Linked DNA regions of Homo sapiens: regions 2, 3, 4, 5, 6 and 7 are each linked to region 1. Evidence: promoter capture Hi-C in 16 types of primary human blood cells and fetal thymus (Javierre and others, 2016). All regions are on one chromosome and are shown on one strand. The core of a region is centred on a gene start or on the middle of the fragment in contact, and the rest is flanking DNA. Distances in the headings are between cores, read along the strand shown.

Evidence for each region. The method cuts DNA at HindIII sites, captures the fragments that hold promoters and counts their contacts. A CHiCAGO score of 5 or more calls a contact.
Region 2: a contact is called between a fragment that was not itself captured here and the fragment with the promoter of CLYBL in region 1, in 5 of 17 cell types (non-activated CD4 T cells, total CD4 T cells, naive CD8 T cells and 2 more). The highest score is 8.8, in non-activated CD4 T cells.
Region 3: a contact is called between a fragment that was not itself captured here and the fragment with the promoter of CLYBL in region 1, in 1 of 17 cell types (fetal thymus). The highest score is 5.0, in fetal thymus.
Region 4: a contact is called between a fragment that was not itself captured here and the fragment with the promoter of CLYBL in region 1, in 2 of 17 cell types (fetal thymus and activated CD4 T cells). The highest score is 6.1, in fetal thymus.
Region 5: a fragment that was not itself captured here is called in contact with the fragment with the promoter of CLYBL in region 1 in 1 of 17 cell types (naive CD8 T cells); the score reaches 6.3 in naive CD8 T cells.
Region 6: a fragment that was not itself captured here is called in contact with the fragment with the promoter of CLYBL in region 1 in 2 of 17 cell types (naive CD8 T cells and total CD8 T cells); the score reaches 6.4 in naive CD8 T cells.
Region 7: a contact is called between a fragment that was not itself captured here and the fragment with the promoter of CLYBL in region 1, in 1 of 17 cell types (naive CD8 T cells). The highest score is 7.4, in naive CD8 T cells.

What each region holds. Positions count from the first base shown.
Region 1 is chr13:99,604,325-99,608,066 of GRCh38, forward strand. It overlaps CLYBL (citramalyl-CoA lyase), which reads left to right and starts at 2,366. Exons shown (of 9, transcript NM_206808.5): 1 at 2,366-2,433. The coding sequence starts at 2,372. It overlaps LOC105370332 (a long non-coding RNA gene), which reads right to left and starts at 1,525. Exons shown (of 3, transcript XR_931674.3): 1 at 1,438-1,525. RefSeq lists enhancers at 1,229-2,208, 2,131-2,425 and a silencer at 2,147-2,706. The HindIII fragment of the contact is 13,725 bases long and covers 1-2,856 here.
Region 2 is chr13:100,517,718-100,521,268 of GRCh38, forward strand. The region is part of intron 22 of PCCA (propionyl-CoA carboxylase subunit alpha); the gene reads left to right. Among named protein-coding and RNA genes, the nearest start is that of PCCA-AS1, 38 kb to the left of the region's middle. RefSeq lists enhancers at 1-69, 1,520-2,185. The HindIII fragment of the contact is 2,940 bases long and covers 188-3,127 here.
Region 3 is chr13:100,569,403-100,572,770 of GRCh38, forward strand. The region is part of intron 2 of GGACT (gamma-glutamylamine cyclotransferase); the gene reads right to left. Among named protein-coding and RNA genes, the nearest start is that of GGACT, 18 kb to the right of the region's middle. The HindIII fragment of the contact is 846 bases long and covers 1,286-2,131 here.
Region 4 is chr13:100,593,663-100,597,357 of GRCh38, forward strand. No RefSeq gene overlaps it. Among named protein-coding and RNA genes, the nearest start is that of GGACT, 6.7 kb to the left of the region's middle. The HindIII fragment of the contact is 569 bases long and covers 1,642-2,210 here.
Region 5 is chr13:100,202,962-100,206,344 of GRCh38, forward strand. The region is part of intron 6 of PCCA (propionyl-CoA carboxylase subunit alpha); the gene reads left to right. Among named protein-coding and RNA genes, the nearest start is that of PCCA, 120 kb to the left of the region's middle. The HindIII fragment of the contact is 1,559 bases long and covers 1,016-2,574 here.
Region 6 is chr13:100,235,775-100,239,270 of GRCh38, forward strand. It overlaps PCCA (propionyl-CoA carboxylase subunit alpha), which reads left to right. Exons shown (of 24, transcript NM_000282.4): 8 at 68-104. Among named protein-coding and RNA genes, the nearest start is that of PCCA, 150 kb to the left of the region's middle. The HindIII fragment of the contact is 3,132 bases long and covers 1-2,861 here.
Region 7 is chr13:100,539,773-100,543,219 of GRCh38, forward strand. All of the region lies in intron 2 of GGACT (gamma-glutamylamine cyclotransferase), which reads right to left. It also overlaps the pseudogene RPS26P47. Among named protein-coding and RNA genes, the nearest start is that of GGACT, 47 kb to the right of the region's middle. RefSeq lists an enhancer at 3,114-3,293. The HindIII fragment of the contact is 3,470 bases long and covers 1-2,996 here.

The DNA.
Region 1 (3,742 bases), core at 1,116-3,615:
GAGATGACCAGGCACTGTGACAGTGAAATAGATGTGGGGGCGCCGTTGGGGATCTTTAGGTTATTAGCACAGGCCCCTGTGAGGAGGTGGCACGTAGGCTGAAGGTCCTGGAGGATGAGCAGGTGTAGCCATGAGCATTCTGGGGATGAGGAACGGCATGTGTGAAGGCCCCACGGTGGGAGAGAGCCTCGTGGACTTAGAAAACACAGACAGAAGATGAGTGGGGCTGGAGATAAATTGGAGAGGCTGGCAGGGGCCAGACCGTGTGAGGCTTTAAGGGTCATGGGGAAGAACTCGGATTTTATTCTAAAGCCACTAAAGGGTTTTAAGAAGGGAAGCGATGCAATGACAATAATAATGAGGAATAGTTAACACTACTGAGAACTTGCTTAGATTTTAAGTGTGCAGTCTCTCTCTATGTATATGTAAACTCAGTCTATCATTATAACAAGCCTATGAGGTGATGAGGTATTTATACCCCCATTTTATAGATGAGGAAACAGAGAGCTTAAGAAACTTGACCAAAGTCACACAGCAAGTCAACTCTGGAACTAGGAGCTGCGTCATGCTTTTAAAAGGTCAGCCAGGTTTTATGGCAAACGGGTGATTGTAGGAGGGAAGAATGGGAGCAAGGAGGCTTTGAAATAATCCAGGTAAAGGATGATGATGTCCAGAATCAGACTTGAGTGAGGTGAGTGCAGCCCCAGCCTGGGATGCAAAATTTAAGGAGAAGTCTCAGTAATTACTGCACTCCAGCCTGGGCGACAGAGCGAGACTCCATCTCAGAAAAAAAAAAAAAAAAAAAGATAAGTAATATTGGCCTGGCATGGTGGCTCATGCCTGTAAGCCCAGCACTTTGGGAGGCTGACGCGGATGGATCACTTGAGGCCACGAGTTCGAGACCAGCCTAGCCAACATGGTGAAACCCTATCTCTACTAAAAATACAAAACAATTAGTTGGAAGTGGTGGCACTTGCCTGTAGTCCCAGCTACTCAGGAGGCTGAGGGGTGAGAATCACTCAAGCCTAGGAGGTGGAGGTTACAGTGTGTGAGCTGAGATCGTGCCACTGCACTACAGCCTGGGCGACAGAGCAAGACTGTCTCAAAAAAAAAAAAAAAGTAATATTCTAAACTAAAAACCAAGATAATGGAAAAATCCCATTATGAACAAAATATCAAAATTTTAATTAAAGACAGGATTGGTGTTACTGAAATTGCCTTTGCCTCAGGCTTCAGTATGGCTGGACCGGGCACTGGCTGGGACTAAGGTGGTGACAAGAAAGTGACCAAATTGGAGTAGACAGGCGAGGCCTGAGGTGGAGCAGGCGTGGGAGCTGGGGGAGGGCACCAAGGGGTTGAGCAGTCTCCCCTGTTGGTATCGAATATAACAATAATTCTTAGGCTCAGCAGAAGTTTAGCATCCATGTTCCCAGTCACCTGGACTTTTCCAAATCTTGGAACCCCCTCTGGCTGAAAAGGCTTTTGTTTGTTTAAACGGCCACTTTTTGCATCCAAGAGCACAAGTCAGCTTCCACTGGAAGGTTCTGAGAAACGGTTTCAGGTTTAAGTCTAGAGCATGAATGGAACGGAGTCACAGCTGAAAAAGAAACATGCCGAGTGCCAAGGAAAAGACATGGTTAAGGGGTAACATGGGCCCGGGTAGGTGAAGGTCGGCAGGTGGAGGCCGGCTGGATCAGGGAAGGTGAAAGAAGAGGCAGGGGCAGGGCCCAGCCTGTTTTAACGCCTCGGCGTTCTCACCGCTGCAGAACGGCTGCAGGGGGCAGAGTAAAGAGCTGCTGTCAGTTTCCCTGCCCAGAGAGTGCCAACAGCTGCTCTGACCTATTGCAGGCATGTGTGTTCCAGGATGCAGCCTTCCTGCACTTTGACCACTCTAGATTAATTGCTAACCAAGATATGCACATGATGGGGCTCACAAAGTATTAGGCGGTATTTTAACAACAAAAGCTGCGAAGAAATCCCTAGAAATGTTGGCTCTTCTGGCTGGGAAAACGCAGTCTGTCAACAGTTGCCTCAAAAACTCAGAAGCTCAGAGAGTTGGATTCGGTCACCAGAGAGGCCCCTCAAAGAGGCCCCAACCATTCAGATCCTCTGCTCTGTCCCCCATGACAGCGGGGACGAAGGTCCTAAGCCCTGGCCGGGAGGGCAGTTGACCTCGGGACTCGCCGCGGGGCGGAGCGGGTGCTGGGAGGAAGGAGGGCGTGGCTGGCGGGGTGTGGCTGGCGGGACGGGGCGGGGCGAAGACAGAGCGAGGCGGGGCCTGGGACGGGGGGGGGGTCGGTGTCGCCGTGGGGGCGTGGAATGTGGGGTGGGCGTGGCTAAAGGCAAAGGGCGGGGCGCGCGCGTCGGGAAGATGGCGCTACGTCTGCTGCGGAGGGCGGCGCGCGGAGCTGCGGCGGCGGCGCTGCTGAGGCTGTGAGTGCAGGTCCCCGTTCCCCGCCTTCCCGGCCCGGCTCGCCGCGGGTCGGCTCCTGTTGCAGCCCCGCGGGCCGGGCGCGGCCTCCCCAAGCCCTCACGGGAACCCAGCCGGACGGAAGCACCATGCGCCTCCCACGCGCTGGCTCGACCTCGTCCAAGGTCGCTGCCGCCCGCGCCTCCCTTTGGGAGGGCCCTCGTTGCACCCGGAAAATGGGTACACACCTTAGGTCGAATTACCTGGACTCAGCCCCAGGAAACAAAACTGCCTGCCTCCCCCAAATGGCAAACGTGAACGCGCCAGTCTTTGAGAGGCGGCTTGCCTGGTGAAGAACACCTGCGGTTCGTTTAACACAGCGGTTCCCAAACGGTTTGGTCTCAGGACCCGTTTACACGTCTAAAAATAATTTGAGGACCCCCCAAAGCTTTTGCTTATATCTATTGATTTTTGTGCATGAGGAATTAAACCAGAAATTTAAAAAATATTCACTTAATAACAAACCCATTAACTTTTAATACAAATAACACTTTAATGCATAACTTCTCAAAAAAAAAGTGAGAAGATTGGCTCATGGTTTTTATATTTTTGAAAATTTCTTTGGTTTAATAAAGGACAGCTGGAGTCTCATATCAGCTGTTTTGAAGGAAATATTTGAAAGAAATTCTGGGCTCATGCAGATGCAGATATTAGTTGGGAAAGGGAGGACCAAGCAGACCCTCTCAACGGGTCTCAGGGACCCCCTCAGGTGTCTTTGGACCACACTTTGAGAACCGCTGGTCTAGCACTTGCCCATCGCCTAGGTACGTGCACATACATGGTCTCATTTGGTTCCCTTGACCACCATGTGAAGAAGTTGGGTGTCATGTTTATAAAGATGAAAAAACAGGGTCAGAAAGGTTAAGGATTCTCAAAGCCCTATGACCAGTAATGAGAGAGTTTGGTTCAAACACTAAGTGTATGGCTCCTGGTCTGGAACTTCTTTATTTATTTATTTTTATTTTTTGAGACAGAGTCTCGGTCTGTCACCTAGGCTGTAGTACAGTGGTGTAATCTCGGCTTACTGCAACCTCCACCTCCTGGGTTCAAGCGATTCTCATGCCTCAGCCTCCTGAGTGGCTGGCATTACAGGTGTGCACCACCACCCCTGGCTAATTTTTGTATTTTTAGTAGAGACAGAGTTTCGCCATGTTGGCCAGGCTGTTCTCGAACTCCTGACCTCAAGGGGGTCCACCCGGATCAGCCTCCCAAAGTGCTGGGATTACAGGCGTGAGCCACCATGGCCGGCCTGGTGGTCTGGAACTTCTTTTT
Region 2 (3,551 bases), core at 408-2,907, 910 kb after region 1:
GCAGAACTTCCTTTCATATTCTGTGCCATTGTGTTTTGATGAAACAGCCTTTTCTCTTGAATTACTGCTTGTGAAAAATGTCCCAAACCACTAATACCGAAACCCAATGCAGCCTGAGAAGTTTCATCGTCGGCTCTTAGCGCAACTTCTATAGTTAAATTCTGCTTAGTGTAATTAAAACACAAGAAGCTTCCTTGGACCAGAGGCACGTCACTTACTTGAGGCCATTGTGAGGAAACACTACCTGTCACGTTGAAATTTTGCGGTTTTAAGTGATTTTAACACCGCGGGGCGTGTTGTGTTTTCCTCCGCACTAACAATAGCCGGGCGAGGTTCCCCTTTTATGGGTGGGAAGATAATGGAGTCAGTCTCCTTGGTGTATTTTCAAGGAAAATAAGGACCCTAAAACAACTAAGGGCCTTACAAGTATTCTGTTTTTCTTTGAAATGTTACTTTTTATCGTTTAAATTCCAGTAATCTATCATGTTTCTGTTTAGCTTAGCTGAAGTAAAACTTGACCAATCGTAGAATGGTGGGCCTGGCAATAAGTTCTAAAAAAAGTGTCACATAAATCGTAATGAACAAATCTGTTTTGTGAAGTAAACAATTTGAACACAGTTTAAAAACCTCAGGAAGAAGAGATGTGGGGTGGCCGTTGAGAAGTAGTGAATCCGCTCGGGGCGCTTGGTGTGGCAGGGCCTTGTGCACTGATTCATTTGAAACACTCAGCCTGCCCTAAACACAGAAGCTGTGTTTTATTTGAAGGGCTTCTGTAGGGTTCACACAGCAAAAGTTCCTAATAACTTTTTCAGTGTCTGTTATATACTATTTAACATTAAATGTGGCAGGTCACATTTTAAATGATTGTGTAATAGTTTTTCCGAACACGTGGAGAGAGGATGTTAATACACAGTAAAATGCAGGTAAGCAAACAAATCAATAAGAAAGTACAGTGGATTATTAAGGTCCAGAATCAGTAATATAATTTAGGAAACAACTGATAGAATAAATTTTAGTGCCTTTTTATATGCCTTCTGAAAATGTTTCTGCAGTAACTCATTTCAGTTTGAAAACTCGTTTTCTTAGACTCGTAACACTATTGTAAACTGGGAGCACTTCTGTAATCAAAGTTAGCATGACTCAGCTGTTTCAAACTTCTACCTTTATGATACTCTTGAACAGAAATGTTAGAAATATATATATTTTCAGAATAACGGTAGAATACATTTTTCCACATGTCAAATTAGACTTATAGCTGCTGAATTTATTGCATAATTTTCACTTTGACTTTGAAGTCAAATAAAGTCATGATGAGCACATTCGCTTTGTTAGCCTTTTGATATCAGAAACAAAACCACCCCATAAGATAGTCACCCAAGGAGGCATTTTAATATTGCATTTAGTTAAGATTCTTTCAAGTAATGTTCGTATTCTGCAGTCATCACAGATTTGCATCAGAAATACTCATTTAATACACCAAACAAATGAGAAACAAACCATAAGCTGCTATATACTCATCTGCATTTCTTTCTTTCTTAACAATTAGTGAAACCAGGTGAAAGAATAGATTGAAATTAAGTACCTGTTGCTGCTTTTTCTTGCGAATTAGCCCATTCGATATTAGACTTCGGGATATTTTGGTGGGGCTAAGATGAAAAGATCCACCTCGTGATGGAATTGACCTTCAGCAGGGGACAGTGAGGTGTCTGCGGTTGTTCCTCTTGTGAACAACGCCTTAAAGGCGAGAAACAGCCTACTGTACAGTGTGCCAGGGAAAGCATCACATCGGTGGGCGTCGGTGGCAACACCACTTACACTTCACCCTGATTTTGTTTCCTCCTTGCACGTGCTCCTTTGACAGGGCAGGCTCCCAAGCAGGTGTGCAGTCAGGGCCACAAGACACAGGCACCCCATCCCATCTCAGAGTCTGACGTCCCCTCCTCCCCTTTGTCTCTAAGCCTCATGTAACTGAGCTTATAGCCGACCATACAGAACTGGCAAACTTGGTGAGATACCTTTATTTTTTATTTCTTAAACAAGATTTTAAAATTTCATAAGCTCTCACGTATCCTAACGAGAAGGCAGGGCTGGGCCCTCCCGACGGGTGTTTGCCTGGCATCGCGCTTGTGTGCCTCATGCAGCCCAGGCTCGCTCACTGCATCTTTCCCTGGCAGAGGGGCTAGCCTGGCTGCTTCATAGACTTTCCAGTTTCTGGATACCTTGATTTACAATCACAAAATAATTGCAGTAATTAAATTTATATGTTTTATAGCAATAGTTATTCAAGCAGTTTATTTGACAAGATGCCAGTTTTCACCCAAACCTCAGATTGTATCTCACAGCATGTACACAGAGATCCATGCATTTGTTAACATTTTAAGACTTTAAAATTATGAAATACTACAAACATGCAGAAAGTTACAGAGAAGAATCCAACAAGCACTCCTGTGCCCTTTGTTCACCATTTCCATATGTGTTTCAAATTTTATTTAACAATGAGACATTACATATAACATGAACTTCCCCTGTGGCAAGCTCCTCCATCTCATTCCTGTCCTGTCTTCTTCAGAGGTAACGACTACCCCTGGATTTGGCCTTTTAATCTTTTCCAGATAACATTTATTTTTAAATGTTAAGAGTTGGTTTTTGGCCGGGCGCGGTGGCTCACGCCTGTAATCCCAGCACTTTGGGAGGCCGAGGCGGGCGGATCACGAGGTCAGGAGATCGAGACCACGGTGAAACCCCGTCTCTACTAAAAATACAAAAAATTAGCCGGGCGCAGTGGCGGGCGCCTGTAGTCCCAGCTACTCGGGAGGCTGAGGCAGGAGAATGGCGTGAACCCGGAAGGCGGAGCTTGCAGTGAGCGGAGATCGCGCCACAGCACTCCAGCCTGGGCGACAGAGCGAGACTCCGTCTCAAAAAAAAAAAAAAAAAAAAAAAGAGTTGGTTTTTGTTGGAGGTAACAAATATCTATTAGTAGATAAGAGGAGGCAGAAAAAGATGAGGAGGTAAAAAAATATCTATTAGTACTGGGAATTTTTACAGTTGAATATACTCAATGATAATTATAAAATAAAAAATATTTATGTGGATCAGTATATTAAATATTATAGGAGAGTCTTCTCCAAGCTTGGCGTTTGATTTTTCAGGAGTGATCTGCTTGGGAGTAGAAGGTGTTTTCTTTGTTTTCAACATTTTTATAAGTGACCATTCTCAGCCTTACCAAGATGTAAACTATCTTTTTCTCTTTTAATAAAAATAAAAGTTTACAAAAAATCATCCTTTCACGGAGCGCTTTCAGGCAGCATGCTTTACGAAGGTAGAGGGTCCAGGCTAATTTCCAAAGGTATTGTGAATGACATCAGTTTCCACTAGTTCTCTTTGTAACTGCAGGCTTTGGCTCTGATTTTGAGCTAACTTAGAGGGCAGCAGGGAGTCATATTTTTCTTCATTTTAAGGAATTTTAAAAGAAACTGGACTTGTTTTATATCGGCCACAAGTCTGTACTCTTACCCTTAGCCCCTTGGGTGCTGCCCAGTTCTGGGGAGCCC
Region 3 (3,368 bases), core at 459-2,958, 960 kb after region 1:
CTTGGGGCTTGTACTCTCTGAAGCAATGGCCTGACCTTTACACTGGACCCTTTTAGCCACAGCTGGAGCTGCAGCAACTGGGAGGCAGGGGGGCACCATGTCCCGAGGCTGCATAGCGCATGTGGGCCCTGGGCCTAGCCCACAAAAGCATTTTTCCCTCCTAGGTCTCCAGGCCTGTGATGGGAGGGGCTGCTGAGAATGTCTCTGATATGCCCTGGAGACATTTTCGCCACTGTCTTGGTGATTAACATTTGGCTCTTTGTTACTTATGCAAATTTCTGCAGTGGGCTTGAATTTCTCCCCAGAAAATAAGTTTTTCTTTTCTATCACATTGTCAGGCTGCACATTTTCCAAACTTTTATGGTCTGCTTCCTCTTGAATGCTTTGCTGCTTAGAAACTTCTACCACCAGATACCCTAAATCACCTCTCTCAAGTTCAAAGTTCCACAGATCTCTAGGGCAGGGGCAAAATGCCGCCAGTCTCTTTGATAAAGCGTAACAAGAGTGACTTTTGCTCCAGTTCCCAACAAGTTCCTCGTTTCCATCTGAGACCACCTCAGCCTGGACTTTATTGTCCATGCTGCTATCAGCATTTTGGACAAAGTCATTCAACAAGTCTCTAGGAAGTTCCACACTTTCCCACACCTTCCTGTCTTCTGAGCCCTCCAAGTCTCTAAGAAGTTCCAAACTTTCCCACATTTTACTGTCTTCTTCTGAGCCCTCCAAATTGCTCCAGCCTCTGCCTGTTACCCAGTTCCAAAGTGGTTTCCACATTTTTGGGTATCCTTATAGCAGCACCCCACTCTCTGTGGTACAAATTTACTGTATTAGTCCATTCTCATACTGCTAATAAAGACATACCTGAGACTGGGTAATTTATAAAAGGAAGAGGTTTAATCGACTCGTGTTCAGCATAGCTGAGGAGGCCTCAGGAATCTTATAATCATGGCGGAAGGGGAAGCAAACATGTCCTTTTTCACATGGTGGCATCAAGGAAAATGAGTGCCCCATGAAGGGGGAAGCCCCTTATAAAACCATCAGATCTCATGAGAACTCACTATCACAAGAACAGGATGGGGGGGAACCGCTGCCATGATTCAGTTATGTCCACCTGCCCTCCCACAACATGTGGGGATTATGGGAACTACAATTCAAGATGAGATTTGGGTGGAGACACAGCCAAATTATATCAGACCTCAAATGAATCTCTGGAAGCAGTCTGGGTCCTTACCCATCCTCTAGGTTTATAAAATCCCAAGGAATGTCTCCTTCTGCCATGATTATAAGCTTCCTGAGGCCTCATCATCCATTCTGAACATGAGTCAATTAAACCTCTTTCCTTTATAAATTACCCAGTCTCAGGTATGTCTTTATTAGCAGTATGAGAAAAGACTAATACAGTAAATTTGTACCACAGAGACTGGGGTGCTGCTATAAGGATACCCAAAAACGTGGAATCTTAGGCTTAAATGCCTGCTCAGATGATGTATCGCTACTTATTTGCTCATCTAATAATTCCATATGTAAGAAAATGTTGTGATTGGCCTCCCCGAGAGATTGCTCAGTCTCCAAGAAAACGACCCCCTATGAGGACAGTTTATAGCCCTTGAGCTGTGTGAAAACACAGTGCCAGAATGGATCAAAGCTCCAGCCCAAAACACCATGGCATTAAAGAGACAGGGAAGCAGAGAGCAGTGACAACAGTCCTAGCTCTCTGCCAATCCAAAGGAAAGAAGGGAAAAAAGGGAAGATAACAGTGTCGAGGAGGATAACCTCAGATACATGGGAACTGGCACATGAGAAGCACACTTTTGTAAGTAGGGAGATTTATTTTGCAAAATCCCCCAGCAGGCAAGCCTTGGCAATACATTTCAGATGAACTCATCCAAACTGATGCTGTGTCTTCGCAAGGAAAATTGAAAAGACTGTATTTAATGCAAAGATATTACAGTTTTTCTAATGATCATATAGAAGTGCCATTCTTTGATATTGCTCTAATATCCTTCAGAACACAGATGTGTATGCTGTGCAGCAGAAGAAAGTGTGGTGTAGACAGAGAACATACTTTCTTTTTTTAGTTTTAATTTTAATTTTTGTAGAGACGGGGTCTCATTTGGCCAGGCTGGTTTCAAGCTTCTAGCCTCAAGCAATCCTGCCACTTCAGCCTCCCCAAGTGCTAGGATTATAGGCATGAGCCACTGCACGCGGCCCAGAGGACACACTTTACAACTAGATGTACTTCATTTCAAAGTCATGTAAAACCCTGCCGTGTTTCAGCTGTGTGACCTTGTTCAGGGTGTTTCATCTCTGTGAACCTCAGTTCCAATTCCCTACAAATGGGGATAATAATGCCCACCTCAAACATTGATGTATGGAGATAATGTATGTATATATACATTCTGGCCCACACATGATCTCAATAATTCTTACTCCCTCTGAGAGAAGGATAAATCACAGAACTACAAGGACTAAATAGAATATATCACAGATATAATAATGCCTTGCATATATCTTGTATCCAATAAGTCTTAACCTTTTTTAACTTACTCAAACATACAAAAAGCCATACACTAGTTATCTGGTATGGTTGACTGGTGTTCTTTATTATGAAATTTAACCTTTTGTGTGCAGGAAAAACCTGTATAAGCCCTTCTCTGCATTGGTCTGCACAGTATACTAAAAATGACATAGCTCATGCACGTTCCCAGCATCAGCCAAGGGTTGGACGCAACCCAAGTGTCCACTGACAGAGGAAGGAATAAACAAAATGTGGGGTATACACACAATGGAATATTACAGAGCCTTGAAAAGACTGAAAGGAAGGAAATTCTGACCCATCCTACAACAAGGATAAGCCTTGAGAACACTATGCGAAGCAAAATAAGCCAGTCCACAAAAAGACAAATGCTGTAAGATTCCACTTTTATGACATACCTAGAGTAGTCAAATTCATACAGACAGGAAACAGAATGGTGATTACCAGGAGCTGGGGGACGGGGAAAATGGGGAGTTGTTTAATGGATATAGAATTTTAGTTTTAAAAGATGAAAATGTTCTCAAGGTTGGTTGCACAACAATGTGAATATACTTAATACTACTGAACTGTACACTTAAAAATGGTTAAGATGGTAAAATTTATGTGTTAATGTTTAAAACATTTATTTATTTTTGTAGACAGGGTCTTGCTATGTTGCCCAGGCTGGGGTGCAGTGGCTATTCACAGGTGTGATCATAGTGCACTGCAGCCTCAAACTCCTTGCCTCAAGGTATCCTCCTGCCTCAGCCTCCAGAGTAGCTGGGACTACAGGCGTGCACCACCACACCAGGATAAAAAACATTTTTCAGATGATGTAAGCTTTTCATAAGAA
Region 4 (3,695 bases), core at 676-3,175, 990 kb after region 1:
ATAAGCGTGCAATGGCTTGAACTCACACCCAGCTGAGCCGAAAACCTGTTCTCTTACCATGAGGTTTAAACGGGGAAGCTGGGTAATATACCCTGAACTGTATATTATCAGGACTTATCATTTATATTTGAACCTCTTTGTTAAAATTATTAGTTCCAGTAAGTAATCCTATACATGTAGTTCTCTCAGTGAAGCACTTTCACACACACGATCCATTTGATCCTTATTCTTGCATGAAATAGTAAAGACCAGGGAGAATTTCTTCTGCTTTGATTGGCACGTGGCCTGTCTGGGCCCAATCAAAGACCACCAGGTGCAAAACTGTAGTTGGATAAAGTCAGATTTATTGGCTCATTGCAAGGAGAGAAGACTGAGGCCAGAGGAATCCTGGGATGCCTCAGCAAAGGTAAAGTTTGAAGACTTAGGGGAGGGGTGGCGTGTAGGTGAAATTTAAAGGAAAGAGTGTTTTGACAGGTTCAAGGCAGACAGAGCTGTGAGTACAGATCAACATCAGGTCTGGAGTCTGGGGGTCTACATCCTTGGAGACTAGAGTTAATATAGATGCAGACTGGCACACCCAGAAACCCTTTAAGGGAAGTTCTGCACCCAGGTTGGAAATAGAGGCTGCTTGTTTGTTTCAAGGAGACTCGGATCCCCCGGGTAAGTTGAGATGGTTCCGTCCTGATGATTTCAAACAGCAAACCTTCTGATAGTCAATGCTTTTCCAGAAGGAAGCCTCTCAGTGAGTAAGAAAGCAGCAAGCACCCAAGGACGGGGGTGATTTGACCTGATATGACATCCGTGTGTCCTTGGAGGACGTATTTCCCGCTCCCTCTGCTGCTGTCGTTATCTGTGCTATCTCAGCCTGATGGATGGCAGGGGGCAGAAGTTTACTTTTTCAGTCTGAGATACCTTTTTAACTGATCAGGCCATATCAGGACTAGAAACCTTCAAAATACTTTATTTCCATGCGGGTGTTGGCATTTCAAACATTATGATATTTCACAACAGATTTTGATGAGGATTTGCATAAGCATGCAAAGCAGCTCACCTTTATAACTTCTTCCAGTGGACTTCTCTATAAGAGTTCATGTTTTTTTAAAAAAGGATAAAGCATCTAGGTATTTTTGAAGACTCCTGGGTTAGTCCAATCTTATTTCATAGAGGAGAAATTAACCAAAGCAAGGACAACTACTGATAGTGACAGGAGGCAGCCAAATGCCTAGGCAGGTAGGGCAGGTCCCCAGTGAAACGCCACCTTCAGGCCAAAAACAGCCTGAAAGCTGAAAGATCGGATTGCCGGTCCCGGATGAAGTCTGCAACCCAGAGTGAGAACTTCTGTTCCTTTTTGCCCATCCTTTCCCAATTGATTCTTTCTGAATTATGCCTTTTAACTAATCAAATGTTGCCTTTTCCAATATTACCTACAGCCTGCCCCTTCTCCATTCTGAGCCCATAAAAAGCCTCAGACTCAGCCATATTAGGGGAACTTTCCCACCTTTGGGTAGGGGCACCACCCCGGCGTCCCCTCTCCATGAAAGCTATTTCATCATTCAGTAACCCCGCCTTGCTCACGCTTTGATTGTCAGTGCATCCTCATTCTTCTTGGGTGTAAGACAAGAACTGGGGAATCAGTGCATAAGCTTGACCGGGCCTGGGCAGGCTGAGTGGGCAGGCTGTGTCCTGCAGCAGGTAGTGTGGTTGAGTGAGGCCTGGGTGGGGTGTTGCATCTTGCAAAATGACTGAGAAGAAAATCCTGTGTCACTACCATTATTTTTATCAGAAGCAACTGAGGCATGGAGTAATTAACAGATTCATCCCAGGTTCCAAGTAACTAAAGGAAGGATTGGAGTTGTTTGTATCTAATTGGATTGCTGGAACTTAAAAATAAAAGACACATGCCAGTGAAGTTAATCCTAGCACAGCTCTCACACACCTGTTCCCATGCTTTTTCTACCCTGTCACCTTGTTTGCCGAGGTCTGCAGTTTCCTAGGCCAGTACTGTGAAAGCTATCATCTGTATGTTTTATCAGAAAGTTCTAGAAATGAGCAGTTTTGATATTCAAGACAAATCTCAAGTCTAGCCATCATAATTAATGCTATCAAAATTTAACTGCTGAGACAAAATTGTTTTTACAAGATGGATAAAAGTAGAATTTAAATCAAGAGAGAAAACATTTTCTCAAACACATCACAAGTGGGAAGAAGAAAGCTTTATTGGTCTTTGGGAAATGCCACATATTTAAAAATAAATGATTAGAAATGTAGGACACTCAGGCAGTTTTGATAAACAAAGTAACTGATTAAAACTACTTGAACTAGTCAGAAAATAAGTGATTGCCCAGGTGTGGTGATTCACGCCTATAATCCCAGCACTTTGAGGGGAGGCTGAAGTAGGAGTTCAAGACCAGCCTGGGCAACATAGGGAGAACTTGTCTCTACTAAAAAAAAAAAAAAATTAACCCAGCATGGTGGCACATACCTGTGGTCCCAGCTACTCAGGAGGCTGAGGCAAGAAGATTGCTTGAGCCCAGGAGGTTGAGGCTGCAGTGGGCTGAGATCGCACCACTGCACTCCAGCCTGAGTGACAGAGCGAGATCCTGTCTACCCCCCTCAAAAAAATATATATATATAAATCTGAAATTATTTCTGGGTCATTTAATTATAGGAAAAGTGAAGGGTTTTCCCCCCTTCAGTTATTTATCAAATATTTTGATATACCAAGCTCTGGTCCAGGACTCTATATGTCTTTTCTCACGTAAACATCTCAATAATTGTGAAAAAGTTACATTCCCCATTTTACAGACAAGGAAGCCAAGGTGCTGAAAGATTAAGTGACTTGCTCTATTAGTTCCCTAGGGCTGTCATAACAAGGCCCCACAGACTGGGTGGCTTCAAACAACAGAAATGCATTCTCTTGCAGTTCTGCAGGCTGGACATCTGAGATCGAGGTATTGGCAGGGGCCACGCTACCCTGGAAGCCTCTAAGGGAGAATTCTTCCTTGTCTCTTCCAGCATTTGGTGGCCCCTGGTGTTCCTTGGCTTGTAGAAGCATCACTCTAATCCCTGCCTCTGGTGTCATCAACTCAGCATGTGGTAGAATGTGAGTCAGGATGGATTTTGGCTTTGAAAAGCTATACCCTGTTTTAAAGAGCCTGCTGAGGGAGGGAGGCTCATTAATCCAAAAGATAGGCACCTGTGTGGAAGTGCATGCCCCTAAAGGTGGAAGCCAACTGGAAGAGGATGAAGAGAGAAATGGAGATCTGTGATGTTATTGCAGGAGGTCAGTACTGTCTGCGTGGTTGAGTGGGGAAAATGAGTGATATGCCTCAAAATACAAATCCCCAGATTGGCACCACTGCAACATAGAGTGCCTGGAGGGATGCTCCAGTGATGTGAATACCTGCTGGATGTCGTCTTTGGCAGAGCCTTTGTTAAGACTCTGACTCGACATGCTGACGTTTTAATTTCCCAAGAATAATCTAGAAGAGGAAGGTAGACGCTATGTAGGTCTATGGGGGAAATTGGGTTTCTAAGATGCCATCACAAAATTTCCCATTCCACGTGCTCTTTTTACAACGTGATGTTGACATGCCTCCCATGGAGAAGTGAGGTCTGCGTTCCCTCCTCTTGAATCTGAATGGACCTATGATGATGGCAGGAGACACTTTGTGACTGCCAAAGCTAGGTCAGAA
Region 5 (3,383 bases), core at 545-3,044, 600 kb after region 1:
TTTAACTTGTTTTGAAATATTAGATGATAGGCCAGGTGCGGTGGCTCACGCTTGTAATCCCAGCACTTTGGGAGGCCAAGGTAGGCGGATCACGAGATCAGGAGTTCGATACCAGCTTGGCCAACATAATGAAACTCCGTCTCTACTAAAAATACAAAAAAAATTAGCCGGGCGTGGTGGTGCGCGTCTGTAGTCCCAGCTACTTGGGAGGCTGAGGCAGGAGAATTGCTTGAACCTGGGAGGTGGAGGTTGCAGTGAGCTGAGGTCGCGCCACTGCACTCCAGCCTGGGTGACAGAGTGAGACTCCGTCTCAAAAAAAAAAAAAAAAAGAAATGAGATGATAGTTTTGATCTATTGTATTGGTATGTTTTTCTCCTGTGCTTTCCTGCCCTACATGGATGTTACTCTGGTCCCTTTTTCTTTGCCTTATAAAAACATTGTATTGGGGCCAGGCATGGTGGCTCACGCCTTTAATCCCAGAACTTTGGGAGGCCGAGGCGGGTGGATCACTTGAGGTCAGGATTTCGAGACCAGCTCGGCCAACATGGTGAAACCCTGTCTCTACTAAAAATATAAAACCATATTAGCCCGGCATGGTGGGGGGTGCCTGTAGTCCCAGCTACTTGGAGGCTGAGGCAGGAGAATTGCTTGAACCCAAGAGGCGGAGATTGCAATGAGCCAGGATTGCACCGCTGCACTCCGGAGTGAGACTTCGTATCAAGACAAAAAACAAAAAAAATTATGTTGGATTTTACCTTGATATTTTATTTCACTTAGTTTAATGTGTAAAATTGGTTTTTCTCTACATTTCTTTTTAAAGAGCCATGTATTTTAAAATCAGTGACTCATGTCCAAGAAGTTCAAACACGAGTAGAGATAGCAGGAAGTGGTTTATTCTGAGGTCTTGAAAAGAATGAATTAACCCTGTAATCTCCCCAGTATTCTTTTTGATGTTCCTATTGACATCACTATATTCAGTGGGTGCTCCTTTCTATCTGCTACATTAGTTTTTGAAAGCTTTCTTTCTGACTCAGTTTATCTCATGTGCTAACTTCCTGAACCAATCCTGGAACTGGCCTTTTCTACCAGAAACACTCTTTTCTTTTATCATGGAATAGTATTAAAAACCACAATCTGGATCTTTTGGACAGTTCAGCTGTTTTTCCGTGGCTTTTTTTTTTTTTTCGAGACAGGGTCTTGCTCTGTCATCCAGGCTGGAGTGCAGCGGTGCAGTCTCGGCTCACTGCAGCCTCTACCCGCTGGGCTCAAGCAATCCTCCTACCTCAGCTTCCTGAGTAGCTGGGACCACATGGGACCACAGGTATACACCACCATGCCTGGCTAATTTTTATATTTTTTGTAGAGAAAAGTTTTTGCCATGTTGCTCAGCCTGGTTTCAAACTCCTGAGCTCGTGCAGCTCACCTGCCTCGGCCTCCCAAAGTGCTGAGATTACAGGCGTGACCCACTGTGCCCAGCCCCATGGCTGTCTTTTTCTTCTGACCCTGGTTTTGTAGTTATCCAAGTAGCAACTCTTGGTAAGCCTAAAATCTATACGCTTTAAAATCTGAATTCATAATATAGCAATTTACTAACTTGTGGTATTTCTAAGAATGAAATATGTATCATACATTTTAATTTTTACAATGATTCTTTCTGTCCTTCATTCCTGACATAAAGCCTATGGTAAATTAAATCTCATTTCCTTAACATACTGCTCAAACCCAACCCTTTCCCCCATTCTTCTATTAAAATTTGTCCAGAACCATAGAGTCACAGAATTTAGGAAATGAGTAGAATTTTGGAGCAGTGATTTCAGCTTTTCATAATTTCTTTCTCTTCTTTTGTCTTGCTGTGTTGCCCATGCTGAAGTGTAGTGGCTAGTCATAGGTGCCATCATAGCGCACAACAGCTTTGAACAGTATCTGGGCTCAAGAGATACTCCTGGCTCAGCCTTCCAAGTACCTGGGACTACAGGCACACTTGGCTCATAATTTTTTTTTTTTAAATGAATCACTTTAATGATGAAAAATGCCCACTTTTTGTGATCATAAGACATTTACTTGTATTCAGATATTATATGTATCATGCAAGGTAAATTTAAAAGGACCTTAAAAAGCATATTTTTGGAAACAAATTTAGTTGCTATTGCATAACAAAAAACTTACAGTGATTAAGGGAAACTGATAATTAGATGGATAACAAAAAATACCGGGTTAACAGAAGAGTATCGAAGGTTACTAGTGGATAAAATCTGGCCTTTTATTCTAAGTCACACCGCTGCCTGGTCAAGAACTGAAAACATTTGAAACATGCTCCATCACACTGCAGTTACCATACTCTCTTATCCTGACCTCATCCTTTTTGGTTACAGATTTATGGGAGCCAAGAGCCTCTAATGTTGCTTTCTCATTTTGCTTTAATTACTTTTAAAGGCCAATCTAGGGAGCACTTCCAAAACACATTGATAAAAAGGAAGTTAAGTCTTTGAAACATTTGTAGTTATCCAGCATACTACTGGCTATTTTTCTTTTGTATTGGGTGGGACAAAAAATAGTCACTAAATACTTGATATAAGCTTTTTTTTTTTTTTTTTTGACAATTTTACATTTTTGGGTGAGTAATTTTCCTCAAATTAGAATGCACAAGAAAAATCTGGTTAATCAGTGTTCCAGGTCGTTGGGCTCCTGTTAATCAGAAGTTTTACTGTATAATCATAATGTATTTTGGATGTTCTCATTTATGTTATTTCTTCAATTCTTTGTGTGGGTACTCTGATTGCTTGATTACATCTGCCTGGCATAGTCGTTTTTAAAGCAGCATTTATAATAAAATTTTCCATCTTTGCAAGTAAAATGAGAATATGGAAAGACAATTGATGGTTGAAGCATGATTGTTTCCTCTTGTCTTTACTTAGTGTTTAGTGGGTTTCAGGTTTTGGATAAAGAGAAATGAATATGATTATTGTCCTGGTCCGAAATGATTCATGTATCCACCTGGAGACGTAGAGTTGATAGAGGTGTAGGCTTACCTCTATTATCTCCTCATACAGAGCAGCGCTACTTCCTACGTATGTGCTTTACATTTTTGGGGATTTGCATAAGATTTTTTTTTTCCATGAAAATAAGGTTCTACTAAAACCAAATACAGAAACATTTGATAGAGAGATACTTTATAAGCACCTCTTAGGGCTGAAAGGGTTTCTTGTCTAGCATCCTGCCACTTGTAACACCAGCAAATTCTAGGCATTTGGGTTCCTATAATATTATTTTAGAGTCCTGTGGACCTAGCTATCTTATTATTCTAGTGTCCTCTTTTTTTTCTGGAGACAGAGTCTCACTCTGTTGCCCAGGCTGGAGTGCAGTGGTGCAATCTTGGCTCACTG
Region 6 (3,496 bases), core at 46-2,545, 630 kb after region 1:
ACTGCCCTAAAGACATTGTGCAATGCCTCATGGGATTAATGTTGAGTCTCATTTCCTGCTTTTACAGGATGCAGAAGAAGCTGTCAGAATTGCAAGGGAAATTGGTAAGTCCTTAAATTAACTTTGGTAGGATTTCTGTGTCTTTCAGCAGATACGGTTGAGTCAACAGGTAATAAGTAATTCCCATAGAGCAAATAATACTTTAATAGTTTTAGATTTTGATTACTTGTTGCTCTGGAAGAATGTATCAGTTGAATTGCCAAATTCTATTATTAAAGGAGACTGTAAAGAGTAATTTGACCTTAACTATACATAACTCTTTTGTAAGATGAGATCACAGGCTAATTCAAAGAAGGAATTGTCTTAAGAATTCTAAAGATTGGATATAAGTTTAATGTCAATTTATATGTACATAGTTGAATGTGGTTTGTTAAAATTAAGAACATTTGGATTAAAATGAAGATACCATATGTGACATAGTTCTTTAAGTTTTTGCCTTTTGCTAAGATGTTAGGTATCAACTTAATCTTGTTAGATGGGAAAGATAAAATAGATGTGGGAAATTAGAACTGAATGATCTAAATTGGAATAAAAGGTAGACTGGAGGAGTTTTTAATGGCTGTTTTACATGTACTTGTATTTGGGCAGTGTTTCCCAACTTTTTAATTTCTTTTCTTTTTCTTTTCTTTCCTTTTTTTTTTTTAAGATGGAGTTTTGCTGTCATTGCCCAGGCTGGAGTGCAATGGCACGATCTCCGCTCACTGCAACCTCTGCCTTCCAGGTTCAAGCGATTCTCCTGCCTCAGCCTCCCTAGTAGCTGGGATTACAGGTGCCTGCCATCACGCCCAGCTAATTTTTTGTATTTTTAGTAGAGATGGAGTTTCACTATGTTGGCCAGGCTGGTCTCGAACTCCTGACCTCAGGTGATCCACCCGCCTCAGCCTCCCAAAGTGCTGGGATTACAGGCGTGAGCCACCGCCCCTGGCTCGCAACTTTTTAATTTTAAAAATATTCTTGGCGGTCATGAGAACTATTTTTGGTATCTGCTAATTGAGAAAATGTGTAAGGGCATGCTATTATATGGATTAACAATATTGTTAAATAACTTTGCAGGTTTAATAATCAAATCAGTAATTGTATACATTTGACAGAAATTTGTACAGATGAGAGAAATTAGGCAATGCTTGTAGGGATCCCAGCGTCTTCTCAGCATTCCTGTACGCCTCAGTCCAAGCATCTCATCGTGCCACACGAACATTTCTGTAGGCCTGTTTTCTCACTAAGATTATTTAGATCTATTTTCTGCCTCTAGAGAGCATTTGATTTGGCAAAGCTCATATAGTTGTGATATGTAGAAATATCTTATTGGTCTGGAAGTGATCACTTGTACTAGTAAGCGTGTTCTTTGCAAATGGGACAGTCTAACTTAGCAGGTCTTTAGTGACCTGAAAAGCAGTTTGGCTTATTGCACCCTTGTTTGTAGTTGGTACTGTCTAAATTATTTGGGCTTTGCCCATCATTAAGTGTGTTTTGTTGTTTGCTTTGCAAAAATCTATCTTATTGATATAGGTCCTGGATTTAAGACCAGACCATAGAAAATCTTATTTTATCTGACTACCTCATCTCTTCATTTTTTTTTTCAGAATCATTAACATTTCAAAAAGCCTATCAGTACTTCATAGGAACATTTGCTCGACTGCTAAATAAACTGGACTATATAGAACTGATTCTGTGGTTTCTTTATGGAGAAAAATCAAAAGTTTCTGTTCATGGTTTGAAATCACTGGTATTCCTCATTGCCTAAGAGGCATATAATATACCTACTGGCTTTTGAGGATAGTTTTCTAAAATAGTTTAATTCCATCCTGTCAGACATCTTTACATTTAAAAAGCTCTTTTTCTAGTTCTAGGTTAGATATTATTATCAACCTCATTGGATATAATAATACTGTTATTATTATTATTACAGTATCTACATAAAGGACAATATTTAGAGAAATTTAGGGAAATAAAGGGATTAGAAGAAAATTTACAGTTACACTGCAGTGCCACATTTTGAATGGTGAATTTTGGACTTGCGAGCATTCCCTTTGTGTAAATAGCAGGCCGTGGATTGCTTTGCTTCCTTTATGCCTTTTCTTCCACTTTCTTTCTTTCTTTCTTTCTTTTTTTTTTTTTTTGAGACAGACTTTTCACTCTTGTTGCCCAGGTTGGAGTGCAGTGGTGCGATCTCTGCTCACTGCAACTTCTGCCTCCCGGGTTCAGGTGATTCTCCTGCCTTCACCTCCTGAGTAGCTGGGATTGCAGGCACACACCACAATGCCAGCTAATTTTTTTGTATTTTTAGTAGAGACGGGGTTTCACCATACTGGCCAGGCTGGTCTCGAACTCCTGACCTTAGGTGATCTGCCCACCTCAGCCTCCCAAAGTGCCGGGATTACAGGCATAAGCCAGTGCACCTGGCCATTTTCCACTTTCGTTATAACCTGTCACCTTTAAGATAACCAGCTCATCATGATGGGCCTCTGTCTAACTAGTTCTCATCACTTTGCTTTCCTCCCTCAATATTTTAATGCTGTGCTTTACCTCCTTTTCATTTTTTATTTTTTCCTACTGAAGTTACCTAATCTAATCTAAGTCTTTTTTCTTTGTACTTGGGCACATCCTTTATGACTCCTTTCTCTTTCCTGTCCTTCTTCTAATTCTTCCCCAATTACTCTCTCTTGCTTGTGAAATAAATGATAGCAATCATGGCTATTAAGTATAAGAGTACTGGTGTTTTGCTTATACTGAAAGAAAGGGAAACCATAAAATTTGAGGTAAAATAAACCATAAAGAACTAGGGTCATCAGCTCTTACAAAGCTTTTAGAATTTCTCTGAAAATCTCTTCTGAATCACCTCAGAAGCCTCGCATAAAATCTTTTCCTTGAAGTGCTACTTTCTAAAGTAAATTAAATTATGTTTTATTAAAGTCTGTTGGCTTTCTGTGTTGTTTGATATTTCGTAAGTTTTTTACTACTGATTTTATTGAGATATATCACATTTTAACTATGATTATGATTCCATGTGAAAATGTGTTCCTAGTTCTAAACAACTGATTTATAATCAAACCTTTGAACCTATCCATTTGTAAGTTGTTGATTGTCCATGTGTTATACCTATTCATAGAGTTCTCTCTTAATTCTTTCTGTGTTATGTGATGAAAATGAAGTTTATCCTGTTTTATGTGATTTCCTCCTCTCTCATGTCTTTGCTTTTCTTCTGGAAACATTAATCTATGCTGCCAAAGTAGGAAACTCACTGTATTGAGCATTGATGAATTAAGTGCCTTTTACATAATGGTAACTCCAGTTTATGGAGCATTTCTTCCTAAGGCCAGGCACTTTGGAAATGTTGTTTCTAATGCTAATTCTTGGGTTTAATCATTTTTGTTTACATTTAAGGAAACTAATGATTAGAAATGGTAAGTAATTTGCTCAAGGTCACAGAACTATC
Region 7 (3,447 bases), core at 12-2,511, 930 kb after region 1:
AATGTTTGGTAGAATTTACCAGTGAAGCCATCTGGTCCTGGGCTTTTTTTTTTTTTTTTTTAAGTACAATTTCCATTTTATTTTTCTCCAGAGAATAGCCTGTCTTCAGTCTTTAAGAACTCAGCTCCTTACATGGGCTTTGGTGGGGGACGTGGGGCAGCACCCGCAGGTCTAAATCGAGGTGGGGGTGTTCGGTCCTTGCGGGCTTCACGAGATCGATTCCTGACTACTTTGCTGTGAATTGCACAACTCACACAGTAATGTAGCTTCACATACAGCTTGGGAAGCACATAGGCATCGAAGACGCTCGCTTCAGAAATGTCCCTGACTGCTGCGGCCTCCACTATGTTTCGAATGACGAATTTCTTAATGGCGTTGTCCTTGGGCACGCATCGGGCACAGTTAGTGCAGCGAATAGGCTGCACGTGGCCGCGGCCCTTTTTGGCACGACCATTGTTCCTTCTTTTCTTTGTCATCTTGGAGGCACGGACCGGAGAGAGAGTGGGCTTTTCTTTTGGGGGAGATTTTTGACTGCTGCTTCAGTCTCTTTACTAGTTGTAGGTCTGTTCAGTCTCAGTAGGTTGTGTCTTTCTAGGAATTTGTCCATTTCATCTAGGTTAGACAATTTGTTGGCATAATTGTTCATAATATTCTCTTGGCCTTTTTATTTCTGCAAGATGTGTTGTTCTGTAGGACGTGATGTTTTCTCGTCCATTTCTGGTTTTAGTTATTTAGATCTTTTCTCTCTTTTTATTTAAGTTAAAGGTCTGTCAATTTTGTTAGTCTTCTCAAACAGCCAACTCTTGGTTTAACTGATTTTCTCTGTTGTTTAAAATTCTCTTTTTGTTTATCTCTGCTCTAATCATTACTGTTCCTTTCCTTCTGCTAGCTTTGGGTTTTGTTTGTTGTTTTTTGAGCTTCTTATCTCCTTGTACTCTTGTTCCTTGTCTCTCATGTTCAGCCCATCTCCAAGGGCTGCTGTGAGGATCACAACCAACAGGACACATGAAAAGTCTATAACACTGGCCAGATGCCTCTCAGAACCGCAGCAGAATGTGCCTGTGATTCATTCTGGCTGAGAAAATGTCGGGCTCCTCTTTGGGTGCACCAGGCCCCTGGGCCGGGCTGGGAGGGGTGACACTGCCACTGCAGAAGGGGATGCCACCTTCTGAGAGCCACATGTTACTGTGTCTTCAACCCTGCCCCCTCTCACCATGCTAGTTTTTTGTTTGTTTGTTTGTTTTTCCATGGCACAGGGTTAGAGTCAGGGTCTCAGATAAAATGTAAGGGCTTGGTTTAATGAGTAATGGTAAGAAACGGCTGTAGGCAAGCCATCTGAGTTTTTCCAGATTAAAACAAGTATTTCTCTTGGTCTCTACCTTAATGTGAAGTAATTGCCCCCAAGTCAGCCCTGCTGCATCAGACACAGTGTGAGCCCAGCCCTTGCAGGGCCAGCATCAGGAAAGGCAACCTCAGAATTCTGTAGATGGGCATTTAGGGACAGAGTGCAGGGCAAGTATCAAACAATCCACTGTGCCATAACAGGCCTGACTTGAGTTCCTGCCTCCATCCCTGAGCACCTGTGGGACTTTGGGCAAGTGATTTCAAGTTCTTGAGCTTCCATTTCCTCCTATTTACCCCAAAGAGTTACCCTCCACTGACTGCCGACTGTGCAGGCATGAGCACCTGATGAATGTGAATTCCCTCTTCCCCTTGGCCCTTCCTTATCCCTGCTCCCTCCTCAGGTCTCCACTTAACTCCATCCTTTATCAACATCTTCTAGAAATATCTACTAGCTATAGTCTTCTCAAAAATAAAAATGAACACATTATAAGTGGGAGAGGGCATCAGGCATATCGAGTAGTGGTTGTGGCCTTAATGATTTTCCAAAACCAAGAAAAATGCTTGGGAGGGTGATATTACGTAGAAATGAAGGTGATTAGGCCACAGAAGGTTAATTCCAACTCTGGAAAATCAGTTCAGTAATTGTCTTCTGCAGAAGATGATAGCTTATTTCTGTAAAATAAAACCAGGCAATAAAAGTTAACCTTCATTTCTAGGAAATAATCCAGCCTGCTAGAATGACCAACTAAAATTTTCTACATTTTATGTATTGAGTTCAATAGCATCCTTCATAACATAAAGTTAGTTTGAGAACACTACTTATGCAATAGAAAAGAAAATAGCCTGCATTTCTGGCTTCTGTCATAAGAAAAACTTCATTACCTTTCTGATTGTGTTTTGAACAACACACACAGATCCTAACAGGAAGAAACTTGTCCCCATGGGGACTGAGCCAGGATCAGAGTTAAGCACTGAAACAAGCAATTAATTCCCCTTAGAGGATTAAGGCACTCAGGTTCACTTTGAATCAGAAAAGCGAATCAAGAATAAAATGGTGTACAACCAAGAGGCTGCCAGTCCAACTTACTAAGTTAGAGAACTGAAGAGCAACCCCGGGTGCACAGGAGAAGCAGAGCAGCCGCTGACCCCCCCAGCAAGAAGACGGGTAGGGTTTGTTTCATGGGACAAGATCGTCCTTCATGACGCTGTGGAAACGTTGGGGAGAGCACGGTTTGTGCCCTAGGACGCTGGCCTTACTCTTAACAGATCCAGTCCACGAAAGTAAATCTAAAAAGCGTGTTCCAGCCTGCCACGCTGTCATCCCTCGTGCACGGATTTCCTCATAGCATCTTACTGTTAATACACAGAATCAAAGAATGACATGCATGAGACCTTAACATCAGTTTGGAGAATTTTACTTTGGGTTCCTAGAGCCAATTCTGAGGGCACTGAACATCTCTGCAGATGTCGTTCCCTGATGCTGATGTGTTAAGGATAAGGGCGGCCTGCTGCTGTGGTCAGGATTCAGGCATCCTCCACTCTGGAAATCCAAGAGGCCAAAGCTGAACCTCTGTCCCAAAGCTAACTGGTCCGGACAATAGCGGCATCCAGGGGACAGCATGGAGGTGGAACAGGCTCAGAGAGTCTCCAAAAGCTTTAGATCAGCAAAATCTGGTTTCCCATTGCCAATATTTGAGAAAATAAGAAGACTCATGAGCTGTCCATCTGGTCGGGCGCTGCCTGAAATGCCTGTCACTTATTCAGCAGTTCTCCTTCTTGAAACGCAGTCCGTCTATAGTTTCATATTTCACCACTGAAGCAGAACTTGAAAGTGATTACGAGTCCTTTGCATAACTGTTAGATTTTTTTCTTGATTTCTTTTTTCTTAGCCACCTGGTGGCAAGAGTGTAAAAGGCAGGATTTAAGAGTTTATGATGATAGTTTACAAATCACAACCACTTCATATGCCTGGTACACGTTTAAAAGCATGCATACGCAGACCAGGTGAACCGAACAAGGAAAGGGCTAGTGTTTAACTCTTCTTAAACTAATTTACAAAAGGATTTTAAAAAGACACCAGCTTTTTTTTTTTTTTTTTTTTTT